3 separate regions of the Homo sapiens genome follow, and regions 1 and 3 are each linked to region 2. Evidence: promoter capture Hi-C in 16 types of primary human blood cells and fetal thymus (Javierre and others, 2016). All regions are on one chromosome and are shown on one strand. Each heading gives the region's core, a stretch centred on a gene start or on the middle of the fragment in contact. The rest is flanking DNA. Distances are from core to core; before and after follow the strand shown. Region 1 overlaps SCN11A (sodium voltage-gated channel alpha subunit 11). Region 2 holds the start of EIF1B (eukaryotic translation initiation factor 1B). Region 3 overlaps ULK4 (unc-51 like kinase 4).

The links. The method cuts DNA at HindIII sites, captures the fragments that hold promoters and counts their contacts. A CHiCAGO score of 5 or more calls a contact.
Region 1: a fragment that was not itself captured here is called in contact with the fragment with the promoter of EIF1B in region 2 in 3 of 17 cell types (naive CD8 T cells, non-activated CD4 T cells and total CD8 T cells); the score reaches 8.1 in naive CD8 T cells.
Region 3: a fragment that was not itself captured here is called in contact with the fragment with the promoter of EIF1B in region 2 in 14 of 17 cell types (total CD4 T cells, naive CD4 T cells, monocytes and 11 more); the score reaches 21.4 in total CD4 T cells.

Annotation. Positions count from the first base shown.
Region 1 is chr3:39,047,067-39,051,330 of GRCh38, reverse strand. All of the region lies in intron 1 of SCN11A (sodium voltage-gated channel alpha subunit 11), which reads left to right. Among named protein-coding and RNA genes, the nearest start is that of SCN11A, 2.7 kb to the left of the region's middle. RefSeq lists an enhancer at 1-154. The HindIII fragment of the contact is 2,996 bases long and covers 789-3,784 here.
Region 2 is chr3:40,307,389-40,311,105 of GRCh38, reverse strand. It overlaps EIF1B (eukaryotic translation initiation factor 1B), which reads right to left and starts at 1,399. Exons shown (of 4, transcript NM_005875.3): 1 at 1,134-1,399; 2 at 50-213. The coding sequence starts at 1,164. It overlaps EIF1B-AS1 (EIF1B antisense RNA 1), which reads left to right and starts at 1,408. Exons shown (of 3, transcript NR_033965.1): 1 at 1,408-1,783. It overlaps LOC124906228 (a long non-coding RNA gene), which reads left to right and starts at 2,295. Exons shown (of 2, transcript XR_007095876.1): 1 at 2,295-3,717. RefSeq lists a silencer at 989-1,038 and an enhancer at 1,309-1,668. The HindIII fragment of the contact is 2,965 bases long and covers 63-3,027 here.
Region 3 is chr3:41,890,374-41,894,357 of GRCh38, reverse strand. The region is part of intron 16 of ULK4 (unc-51 like kinase 4); the gene reads left to right. Among named protein-coding and RNA genes, the nearest start is that of ULK4, 70 kb to the left of the region's middle. The HindIII fragment of the contact is 4,938 bases long and covers 1-3,984 here.

The DNA of each region.
Region 1 (4,264 bases), core at 1,037-3,536, 1.3 Mb after region 2:
TGGACACAAAAGAGGGGGACAACACACACTGGGGCCTTTCGGAGGGTGGAGGGTGGGAGGAGGGCGAGGATCAGGAAAAATAACTAATGGGTACTAGGCTTAATACCTGGGTGACAAAATAGCCTGTACAACAAACACCCGTGACACAAGTTTACCTATATAACAAACCTGCACTTGTACCCCTGAACTTAAAAGTTTAAAAAAAAAAAACAAGACAAAAAGATGTTATAGGAAGGCGAAAACGGTACACCAGCTAAAATTGTTCCCAGAGACAATTCTAGTTTAAATCATCTCTTATACTGGAACAGTTAGGTTTGACTTAAGGTGGTTTTCCTGACCACTAATTATAAGAGCTGAGGGTGATCAGACCCTCTCTAGTGAAAGTGAATCCTATAGAACTACACTGTGGGATATAGCATATGATGTATCTGCTAGTCATTTGTGGCTCTTGAGCACTTGAAATATAGCTAGTTCCAGTTGAGATATGTAATTGTAAACTACCCCCAAATTTCAAAGACTAGTTTGAAGAAAAGAATGTAAAATATCTCATTAATAATTTTTTGTATTGATTTCATGTTGAAATGATGTTTGGGGGTATATTAGGCTAAATAAAATTTATTAATTTTGTCATGGATATTAGAATATTTAAAATTACATATGTGGTCACAAATTTCTGTTGCATAGTGCTAGTATATAAGTAATGCTTAGAAAAGTTGTCTTGACAAATACTTCTTAAATTAATAAAGAAATGTGAATTAGATGAGTAAAAATTGTGATGGCAGAAAGCTTCTTAAGCAAAACTGGCAGTGATAACTTATAGGTAAATTACTGCATCATTACAGGCTTATTCATTCACTGATTCATGTATTCATTCATTTAACAAAATATTATTTAGCATATCATATATGCCAGGCACTATATTAGGTGTTGGGGAATCAGTGGTGAGTGCACATAGTCATAGAACTTAGAGTCCCAGGATGAGACAGGAATTAATACAGAGATAAGTACTATGAAGAAAGATGATTGTAAGACAGGAAGTATCTTGAGTCAAGAGTTAACTAGGCAAGGAGAGGGAACAGTCTGAGCAAAGGTCTTGTAGCAGGAGAGAGCATGGAACATTACAGGAACTGAGAGTCAAGGCTTAGAGTACAGAGAAGTGAAAGGAGTATGCAGAGGCCATACCCAGCAGGATCTTTTAGACCAATGGGAAGCTGTTGAAATACAGGTAGGGAAATAATATGTCTGTATTTTAAAAATTGCTTAAGTGTCTATTGAGCACCTATGATGTGCAAAATACAATACAGGTATGTTGCTCTGGACAATATACTGGTACTTGCTAGAAATTGATATGTTGTAGTCCTGCTTTGGACCTGAAAAATATTGAAATAGTGAAGTTCTTTCAGTGGGCAGAATTTTCACCAGTATGTTTTGATGTTCAGTTTGGCTGAAAGGAGAAATGGTCAATTCAGGGTCAGAGGATAATTTTTTGGCCAGTTTGTGAAGGACATGGAAAGAGCAAGACTGGAGAACTAGTGACAAGGAAGACTCCAGAAGGGATATAGTGATGGACCTCTCAGAATAAATCTTAAGAATCATATGGATGAAATGAACTGCTTTGTGATGAAACTCAGCCTCACTGCCTGCTCAGTAGAATCATGAAATAAATGGCAATGGCAATGGCAACAGGATTGGAGCTATGCATGGGATCACCAAGCCACCGCTGGGTGTTCAGAAGCAGTGACCAATACCCCATGCTCTGGGAGGGTCAGCCAGTCACATGTAGGCAAGTCTATTCCATTGGTCATTGGCCCTCCCCATCATTGAGGGAGTTCTTATTTGTCCTCTCTAAAATATGTTTATTCTAGATTGAGATTTGCTTTCCCTGCTCACTGTACTTCCGCTGACACCACCATCTAGGGAATTACTCAGTGCTTTAGACACTATCATTTTCTCTAACACTATATTGCTTTTGACCAAGAAATTCACTCTGCAATGAAAGAAGTAATGCAATGGGCTATTGCCCATGGAATTTATTGGTCTAATTGTGTACTCAATCACTGAGAAGTATCTTGTCTTATTGAAGATATATTGAAGACTTAGCTATGGTGCCTTCTGGGAGATAACCCTTTTTGATACTGTCCTGTAGGATGCAGTATATGCTCTGAACTACTGTCCAATATTCAGCACTCTTTTTTCCTGTTCCTTTTATCTATTGCTGTTTAACCATCTGCAAAATGCAATGGTTTAAAACAATTACAACCCTTACTTTACTTACAAATCTGTAATTTATGCAGAGCTTCATGGGAACAGATTGTCTCTGTTCCACTATCCACTTCACATCAGCTGGGGCAGCTAAAAGATTGGGGCTGGAATCATCTGAAGACCCCTTCTCTCACATGTCTGGTGACTGATACTGGTGTTGGCCTAGTCCTTAGCCAAAGCTGTGGCTAGAACACCTTCTCATGATCTTTCCACAGCACTATTTGGTTCCTCACAATATGCTAACTGGGTTCCAAGGATGAGCATCCCGAAGAAGAAAAATCTGGTTGAAAGCTATAATGCTTTTTCTAAACTCACAGTGGAAGTCATGCAGTGTCACTTTAAGCCATAGTCAATTCATTAGAACTTAGTTACTAAGGCCATCAGTGTCTAAGGAGAGGGGATTAGATGACTCCTTTTTTTATGAAGTATCAATAAATTTGTGGATGTATTTTTTAATTGACACATAATAATTGTACATATATATGGGGTACAGTGTGATATTTTGATACCTGTATACAATCTGTAATAATTGCTTTGGGAAAATTCAATATCCACTCTTTTAGCTATTTGAAAATATGGAATAAATTATTGTTAATCATAGTCATCCTACAGTGATATAGAACACCAAAAATTATTCCTTCTACCTAGCTGTAATTTTATATGTGTTAACCAACCTCTCTATATATAATCCTCTCCTTTACCCTTCTCAGCCACTAGTTACCACTATTCTGTTCTCTACTTCTCTGAGATCAACTTATTTCTCTTTCACATATTGGTGAGAACATGCAGTATTTATCTTTCTGTGCCTGGCTTATTTCACTTAAGATAATGACCTCCGGTGCTATCCATGTTGCTGCAAATGACATAATTTTATTCTTTTTTATGATTGAATAGTATTTCATTGCATATATGTACCACATTTTCTTTATCCATTCTTCTTTTGATGGACACTTAGGTTAACTCCGTATCTTGGCCACTGTGAATAGTGCTGCAGTAACTGTGGGAGGACAGGTATCTCTTTGACATACTGATTTCCTGTTCTTTGGGTAGTAGTGGGATTGCTGGATCATATGGTAGTTGTAGTTTTAGTTCTTTGAGAAATCTACACACTGTTTTCCATAATGGTTGAACTAATTTACATTCCTATCAACAGTGTATGAATTCCCTTTTCTCTGCATCCTCACCCTCTGCATTTGTTTTTGTCTTTTTCGTATAGCGATTCTAACTGGAGTGAGATAATATCTCACTGTGGTTTTGATTTGTATTTCCCTGATGATTAGTGATGTTGAGCATTTTTTTCATGTATTTGTTGGCTATTTATATGTCTTCTTTTGAAAAATGTGTATTCAGATCATTTGCCCATTTAAAAATTATTTGGGTTTTTTTTGCTATTGAGTTGTTTGAGTTTTTTATACTTCCTGGATATTAATTCCTTGTTGGATGAATACTTTGCAAATATTTTCTCTCATTCTGTAGGCTGTCTCATTCCTCTATTGATTGTTTCCTTTTCTGTGCAGAAGCTTTTTAGTTTGATGTAATCCAATTTGTCTATATTTGGTTTTGTTGCCTGTGCTTTTGAGGGCTTATCCATAAAATCTTTGCCCAGGCCAATGTCCTGAAGCATTTCTCCTGTATTATCTTTTAGTAGTTTCATAGTTTTGGGTTTTATATTTAGGTTTTTAATCCATTTCGTGTTGATTTTTGTATAGGGTGAGACGTAGGGAGTCTAGTTTCTTTCCTTTTCATATAGGGGGTCAGTTTTCCCAGCACCATTTATTGAACAGGCTGTTCTTTTCCCAATATGTTATAGGGCCTTTGTTAAAAATCAGTTAATTGCCAGGCATGGTGGTACATGCCTGTAGTCCCAGCTACTTGGAAGGCTGATATATGAGGATTGCTTAAGCCCAGGAGTTTGAGGCCTGCAGTATACTACAATTGTGAATAGTCACTGCACTCCAGCCTGGGAAACATAGCAAGACCCAGTCTTAAAAAAAAAAAAGGG
Region 2 (3,717 bases), core at 150-2,649:
TCAGAGGTGTGCATCAGTAACTCTAATCCTTTCTTCCTAATCCCTTTACCTTTTTGAAAGCTTTCACAAGTTTCTTTTTGTCATAATCATCTGCAATGCCCTGAACAGTAGTCAGTGTCTTTCTGCCGTTCCGTTGCTGGATTCTTATATGAATGTAATCCTCAGTCCCTGCCGGGAGTAAGTCGTCACCCTTAGTTGCATCAGCAAAGGGGTCTGCGAATGGATAAAAAAAAAAAAAAAATCCAAAGTAGAAAAATATTTTTTAAGAAGTACTTTCCAGAAATACATTATACTACCAATCCAGACAGTCATCAATGAAGGTTCTAGTGCCTTTGCTGTTTTTGCCGGTAGGAATGGAGATGGGGGTGGAGTATTAATAAAACCCCCAAGATACTCTCACAAAAAGAGAAACATTTGAACAGCTATGTCCATTGTAGAAAAACGCTGTTATAGATAAATAATGTTATCGTTCAATATGGTCCTCTAATGAGAAAAAGATTTAGAAAACCTTAATATTGTAGCCGCTATAAAAATGTGCGTCATCTCGATTACATTCTGATGAAAACATAAACATTCGAATACGCCCACCTTAATCATTTAACCGTAACTGTGCCTTGCCAAAAAAAAAGTAGATTACATATATATCAAGAGGCGTAATTTAACAAATTGCTACGCAAGCAGAGAAGACTGAACCACTGGCCAGTGACAGATCAGAGGCTTGCATCCGCATCTTTCCCTAAGTGCCCCCAGGAGCTGCCAGAGAACGGGCGCCGATCCCTGGTTTCCCTGGCCCGGCATACCCTTTGCAAGTAGCAGGGCCGATCTAGGAGTCCACGAAATAGGATCGCCAAGGTTTCAAGGGGCAGAAGCGGAGGCGAGAGCCGGGTCAAGGACGGGGCAGGGGGTGGCGCAGGGCCCGCGGCCGGGGCTCCGAGAGGAGGGCTCGGAGTCCGGCGCTGTCCTCGGGGAAGGGGTCGCCAGGGGCCCCGTCGCCATTTTCTGGGCGCCGAGACAAAGCCCCACTAGGGGTGCGGGAAGGGCAGAAAGGGGGCCCCTAGGGGCGGTGGCCAGGCGGGCAAAAGGCCGAGATGCGCGCCGGGCAAGGGAGGGAGGCGGCGGCGACGGGATCTTACCGAAAGATTGGAGGTTCTGGATAGTGGACATGCGATACTAGTGTGAGGCCGGTGAGGGGATAAAATTCCTGCGGGGCCCGCCCGGATCACCTTGTCAGGAGGCTGTAGTGGCGAGAAAACGGAAATAAATAAGAAAACGCTTCGCCCTGGGGTTGGGATTAGGCTGGAGTGGCGGCGGCGGAAGCCGGGAGGAGGCAGGAAGAGGCGAAGGAGGAGGCGGAGGAAGAGGCGAGGGCGCGAGAGAAGAGGCGGCGCTGCGGCTTCTCGCACAAAATGGCCGATGGAGACTATTTAGCCGCGCCCGCGGCCCCTCCCACGTGACCGTCCCGCGCCGAGCATCCTGGGACTTGTAGTTTTCTGGAGGCAGCAGAGCCCGGAAAGCCTGAGGCCGGGGGCGGCCGAGACCGCAATTCCCGTCACGGAGTGCGTCCTCTAGCGCGGGGCGGAAGACCCGCGAAGTGTTCAAGCGGCCGCAGAGCGGCCCAGAGTTCGCAGGTCTGGGGCTCTCTTCCCAGAGAGCTCGTAGGGGAGGACAGTCAAGGGACTCAAGCGTCTCTCTTGACTCCCCTTCTCTCGCTGTGCAGTGGCGGCGCCGAGGGGTCGACGCTCAGGGCTAATCTCTATGAGTCACCCTCGAGGCCCCGGGTAATGTAAGTAAAATCGGGGTGCAGGAACAAAACAAGTCCCCTTGCTCCGGCTTTCAACTCATTGGCCCCCGCTCAGCAACTACCTGCATTGAAATTCCAACCCCAGTTGCAGGAGCGGTGTTAGTCTCAACCAATACTGGAGATGGGAGCCTCTCTTTCCAGGATTGGACGGACCTCCGATTCCCTAGCACGGTGGATCTCAGACTAAAGCGTGTGTCTCTGGAGGGCTTGAGAAAACACTGATAGACCCCAGAGTTTCTGTTTCAGGAAGTCTAGGGTGTGACCTGAAAATCTGCAATTCTCATAAGCTCCTTGGTGATGCTGATCCTGCCTGCTGGTCTGGGATCAGGCTTGAGAATCACTGCCCAGCTTAATCCTGGGCCTGGCATCGAGTGGGGGCCAGGTGTGTATGAACAGAAGATACCAGAAAATCAGCTTGTCAGCTCATTTTGTGTGCCTCAGAAGGCCCAACAGAGAATTCAGGAAAGATGCCAGGTATAAGCTGAAGGTGAGCTCAGCAAATAGGTTAATTGATGGAGTCATGTACCAGACCGTAATATCTTCCTATCAGGTCACGCACAGAAAAATAAACCCGAGACTTTGGGAATTGGCTCACTCAGGCAGGTGTGTTCAATTGTCAAACTTGGTTGGCTTTCTGGAAGCAAAGAGATAGACTAAAATTTAGGGATTCTTAACTTTTTTGTGTGTGCCATGGCAATCCTGTGAAGCTGCTGAATCCCTTCTCAGAATAATGAGAAGTTAAGTTTTAAGTTCACAAAGTACATAGGATTACAAAGGAAACCAATTATATTGAAATTTAAAAAATACATTAATAACGTGTATTTCTTTATTAATACACTAATAAGATCTAGCAAGATTAGGTCTAATACTATAATTTCAAAAAGCTGATAAATGTAAGAGATATTTTGTGATGTCCGTAACATCAGAAATTTAATATGAAAGTATGTGTAACTTCTGTTGGTGCGAAGTGACAGGTCCTTCTATCACTATGATGTTGCCTTTATTCATAATGGAAAGAAATGGTAAATTTTGCTTAGAGGTTAATGAAAATGCAGATATAATCTTTCCCCATCCAATTTTAGGGATCTCCACCCCTGCAGTTTTATCCATGAGCCAAGGATCTGCAGACCGCAGGTTAAGAATACCTGGATTTGACAATCTTTTGTAATTAACAATGATGATAAGTGCCATTTATTTAGTACTTACTGTTTGCCTGTTACAAAGCTTATATATAACATTATTAATCTTCATAGCTATTTTATAAGGTAAGCATTACTCTATGCACCAGGTGTGGAAATGAAGGCTTTTGTAGGTTAATGCCTGAAAAAAAAATCAAATTCTTAACTCTCAGAAATCTAACCACATTTGTGGTCTTCCAGCTCTGGTTCAAATGGAAAACACTCTTCGTATCCCAAATTGAGGTGTAAAGTTTAGAGCTGGCTCCAAAACAAGGAGCATCAAAATATCTAAATAAGTGTGCTTTAAAGTAATTTTATTAGTTCAATTTTGTGCCCTATGTTAATACTCTAACACTCTAATTTCTAAATAATTTGTAATCTAGATAATGCATCTCTATTTGTTTCCTTTCTTTCTTAGTAGATGTACATGAGTATTTTATATTACTTTATTTCTCAGAAGAAGCCAAAGGTGATCCAGTGAAGAAAAAACTACAAACACAGAGAAATTAAAAGAAAAATTCCAGAAATCTTAGGGTTTCATGGTCATTACCCCTGTCAGGAGAACTCACTTTTCTTAGATTTAGTGTTTGCATCAGAAACCTTCAGGAGTGAGAAAAAAAAAAAAAAAGAAAGAAAAAAGAAACCCCCAGGAGCTCAGAAATCTTTAATCAAAGCCAATATGAATACAGATTAGATACAGTTGTGGTTCTTAAGGCTCTTCTAACTCTCATGATTCAT
Region 3 (3,984 bases), core at 1,047-3,546, 1.6 Mb before region 2:
TAATGTTACTCTCCCAAAGTAAAATCTGGTAATAAAAAGTAGGATTTTTAGGTAATGGTTGAGTATTTAATACTTTGAGAAGGCTCATGGTATGCTCATTAAAAATGAATCAATGAAATACTTATTTAAACACCTTTATTTAAAATGTGTTATATCCTTGAATGGGGTGCCCCCTGCTGACATTTTAAAACAGACATTCCAGATCATTTCCAAGTACAGTCATCCTTCTGTATCAGCCCGGAGATTGGTTTTAGTATCCCCTTGGATACCAAAATTCACACATACTGTTTTTTTCCCCCACTTTTAAAAATTGAAGTTTGATTGTAAAACAGTTTTAATTTGAATAAAGTGATACTGAGGTAGACAAGTTCTCTGGTAGGAATCCTCTTTTATTCTTTCTCCATTCAAAGCCACTTCCAGCGACGTTTTCTCTGACCTCAGGTTATATTACCTTGACAGCATATGATAAAGGGTCCTTAACTTAGTCTGGGAGATAATTATTATTGACGTAGATATATTTATTCTTTAGTTTTGTTTTGTATATAAAAAATTAGAATCACATGATATAATTTTATGTTTGTTTTCCCCTGTAACATATATATTACGTATTGTAAATGTTATTATTAACATTTAAAAATAAAATACATAATACTTAAGATAAACTTTTTATATGTTGTGAATATCTGATCATTTTATTTACTATTTTTGGATAGTATTATAATGTTGTAAATAATATTTTGATGAACATTTTTGAGAATAAATCTTTGTGCCTGCTTTTTCTTTTTCTCTTTAGGGAAGATTTGTAGAATTAGAACAGATGGATAGAAGGCAGTAAATATTTTTGTGACTTCTGAAAAATTGCTGAAATACTCTTAAAAAAATTGTATCAATATATAATCCCAGTCAATGTGTTTAAAATGCCTTTTGTTAGAACTTCCAACATTGAGTATTTATCAAATTGTATATCCTTTTATCCTTGCCAGTCAACTTTGAGGTATAATTCACATATAGTAATAGTGTAATACTGTAATTTAAAAAATTTGTTAATTGTAAATTATGCATAATTTAAAATATTCCATTTTAGCCATTTTTATGTATATAATGGCATTTAGTTCATTCTCATTGTTGTATAACCATCACCACTATTCATTTCCAAAACTTTTTCATCATCTTAAACAGAAGCTCTTTACCCATTAAACAGTAACTTCCCCTTTCCTTCCCCAGTCCTGGTAACCTATACTCTACTTATTCTATCTTTGTGAATTTGCTTATGGTGAGTACCTCATATTGCTACTGAAATATCAAGGGGTTTGGTTTAAGTCCTGTTGCTCACAGCACAGAAAGCCAATCACGGAGACAATGAGTGTTGCTAGGGAAGAAGGCTTCAATTGGGTGCTGCAGCTAAGGAGATGGGAGATCAGTCTCAAATTTGTCTCCTCAACTGACTAAAACCAGGGATGTATTTAGCAGGGAAGAAATATAACCATGTATGGGAAAACAGGAATCAAGGAAGGGTGAGGAAGAGGAATTGGTCAACAGGAAGCAGGTAGTTGGTTAGGCAATTGTAATGGGTGAGGGGGTCTGGTGTCTTATGGTCCAGATATGGTGATTTGGTAAGTTTCAGTTCCTTGATAACTATCTGGGAGGCCTGATGGTTGGTTTCCCAAGAAAGGAACTCAGATAAGACAAATGTAACTTCCTCAAGTTTTAAGACTGGGAGGGTCAATTTCTACGTTTATTTTAAAAGACTGTAAACATCAGTTCTATAGGACAATTGGGCTGGTTTCATTTGCAAGGTTCATCCATGTTATAACTAACATGTGTCAGCATTTCATTCCTTTTTAAGGCTGAATAATATTCCGTTGTATGCATATACTACATTTTGTTTATCTTTTCATCTGTTGTTGGGCACTGGCTTGTTTATATCTTTTGGCTATTGTGAACAATGCTGCTGTGAACATTAGTGTTTTCTGTTTTTGTTTTTTGCTAACAGCTATCCTGATGGGTGTGAAGTAGTATCTTACAGTTTTGATTTGTATTTTGTGACTAGTGATGTTGAACATCTTTTCGTGTGATTGTTGGCTATTTGTATATCTTCTTTGGAGAAAGATCTAGTCAAGTCATTTGCCAATTTTTGAACTGAGTTTTATGTTGTTGAGTTGTAGGTATTTTTTATATATTCTAGATATTAACCCCTTGTCAGATAAATGATTGCAAATATCTTCTCTCATTACATAGGTTGCTTTTTACTGTGGCAAGTGCCTTTTTGAGATATGAATTTAGGAGGAATTTTTCTATTTTTCAAATAAGAGTTTTATACTTGAATAAGGTAAAGTAAATGCTCATCCATCATAAATTTTTTAATTAAAAACATAGTTTTCCTGTTTCTTTGCTGTAGTTCTTCTCTTGGTTGATTAGATTTTATCATTTGGTAGGTTTTTTTTTGTTTGTTTGAGACGGAGTCTCGCTCAGTCACTCAGGCTGGAGTGCAGTGGCACAATCTCAGCTCACTGCAACCTCTGCCTCCCGGGTTCAAGTGATTCTTCTGCTTCAGCCTCCCGAGTAGCTGGGATTATAGGCACCTGCCATCATGCCCGGCTAATTTTTGTATTTTTGTAGAGATGAGGTTTTACCGTGTTGGCCAGATGGTCTCCAACTCCTGATCTCAGGTGATCCACCTGCTCTGGCCTCCCAAAGTGCTGGGATTATAGGCATGAGCCACCGCGCCTGGCTGTTAGTATTTTTTGTTTGTTTTCAAGAAGGCCTCTCAGTGGCTTACCTCTGTGCCATGCTTTGGAGTTTGAGCTCTCTTCCTTGTACTAACTGTAGTTCTGTAGGACTTGTGGGTAAACCTTACCTTTTTTTTTTTTTTCCCTCTTCTGTGTGACTTGTTTGAGTTAGCTTTTCTTTTCATTTCAGGCCTGTAAATTTTACTAGATTGTCTCTAGGAATCTCTTTTTACTAATTTGCTCCTTCCTGCCTGCCTGCCTGCCTCCCTCCCTCCCTCCCTCCCTCCAGTCCCGTCTTGTCCCGTCCCTTCCTTCCCCGCTCCCGTCCCTTCCTTCCCCGCTCCCGTCCCTTCCTTCCCCGCTCCCGTCCCTTCCTTCCCCGCTCCCGTCCCTTCCTTCCCCCTCCCGTCCCTTCTTTCCCCGCTCCCATCCCTTCTTTCCCCCTCCTGTCCCTTCCTTCCCCCTCCCGTCCCTTCCTTCCCCGCTCCCGTCCCTTCCTTCCCCGCTCCCGTCCCTTCCTTCCCCCCTCCCGTCCCTTCTTTCCCCCTCCCGTCCCTTCCTTCCCCCCTCCCGTCCCTTCTTTCCCCCTCCCGTCCCTTCTTTCCCCCTCCCGTCCCTTCTTTCCCCCTCCCGTCCCTTCTTTCCCCCTCCCGTCCCTTCTTTCCCCCTCCCGTCCCTTCTTTCCCCGCTCCCGTCCCTTCTTTCCCCCTCCCGTCCCTTCTTTCCCCCTCCCGTCCCTTCCTTCCCCCTTCTGTCCCTTTCTTCCCCGCATCCCTTCCTTCCCCCCTTCCGTCCCTTCCTTCCCCCCTCCCATCCCTTCCTTCCCCCATCCCGTCCCTCCTGTCCCTCCTGTCCCTCCCGTCCCTCCCGTCCCTCCCGTCCCTCCTGTCCCTTCCTTCCCTCCCGTCCCTCCTGTCCCTTCCTTCCCTTCTTTTCTTTCTGTTTATTTTGAGACAGAGTCTTGCTCTGTCGCCCAGGCTGGAGTGCAGTGGCGCGATCTTGGCTCACTGCAACCTCCACCTCCCGGGTTCAAGGATTCTCCTGCCTCAGCCTCCCGAGTAGCTGGGATTACAGGTGTGCACCACCATGCCCAGCTAATTTTTGTATTTTTAGTAGAGATGGGTTTTCACCATGTTGGCCAGGCTGGTCTCAAACTCCTGACCTCAAGTGATCCACCTGCCTTGGCCTCCCAAAGTGCCGGGATTACAGGTGTGAGCCACGATGCCTAGCCTCTTCATCCCTCCTTTAGCTTTTA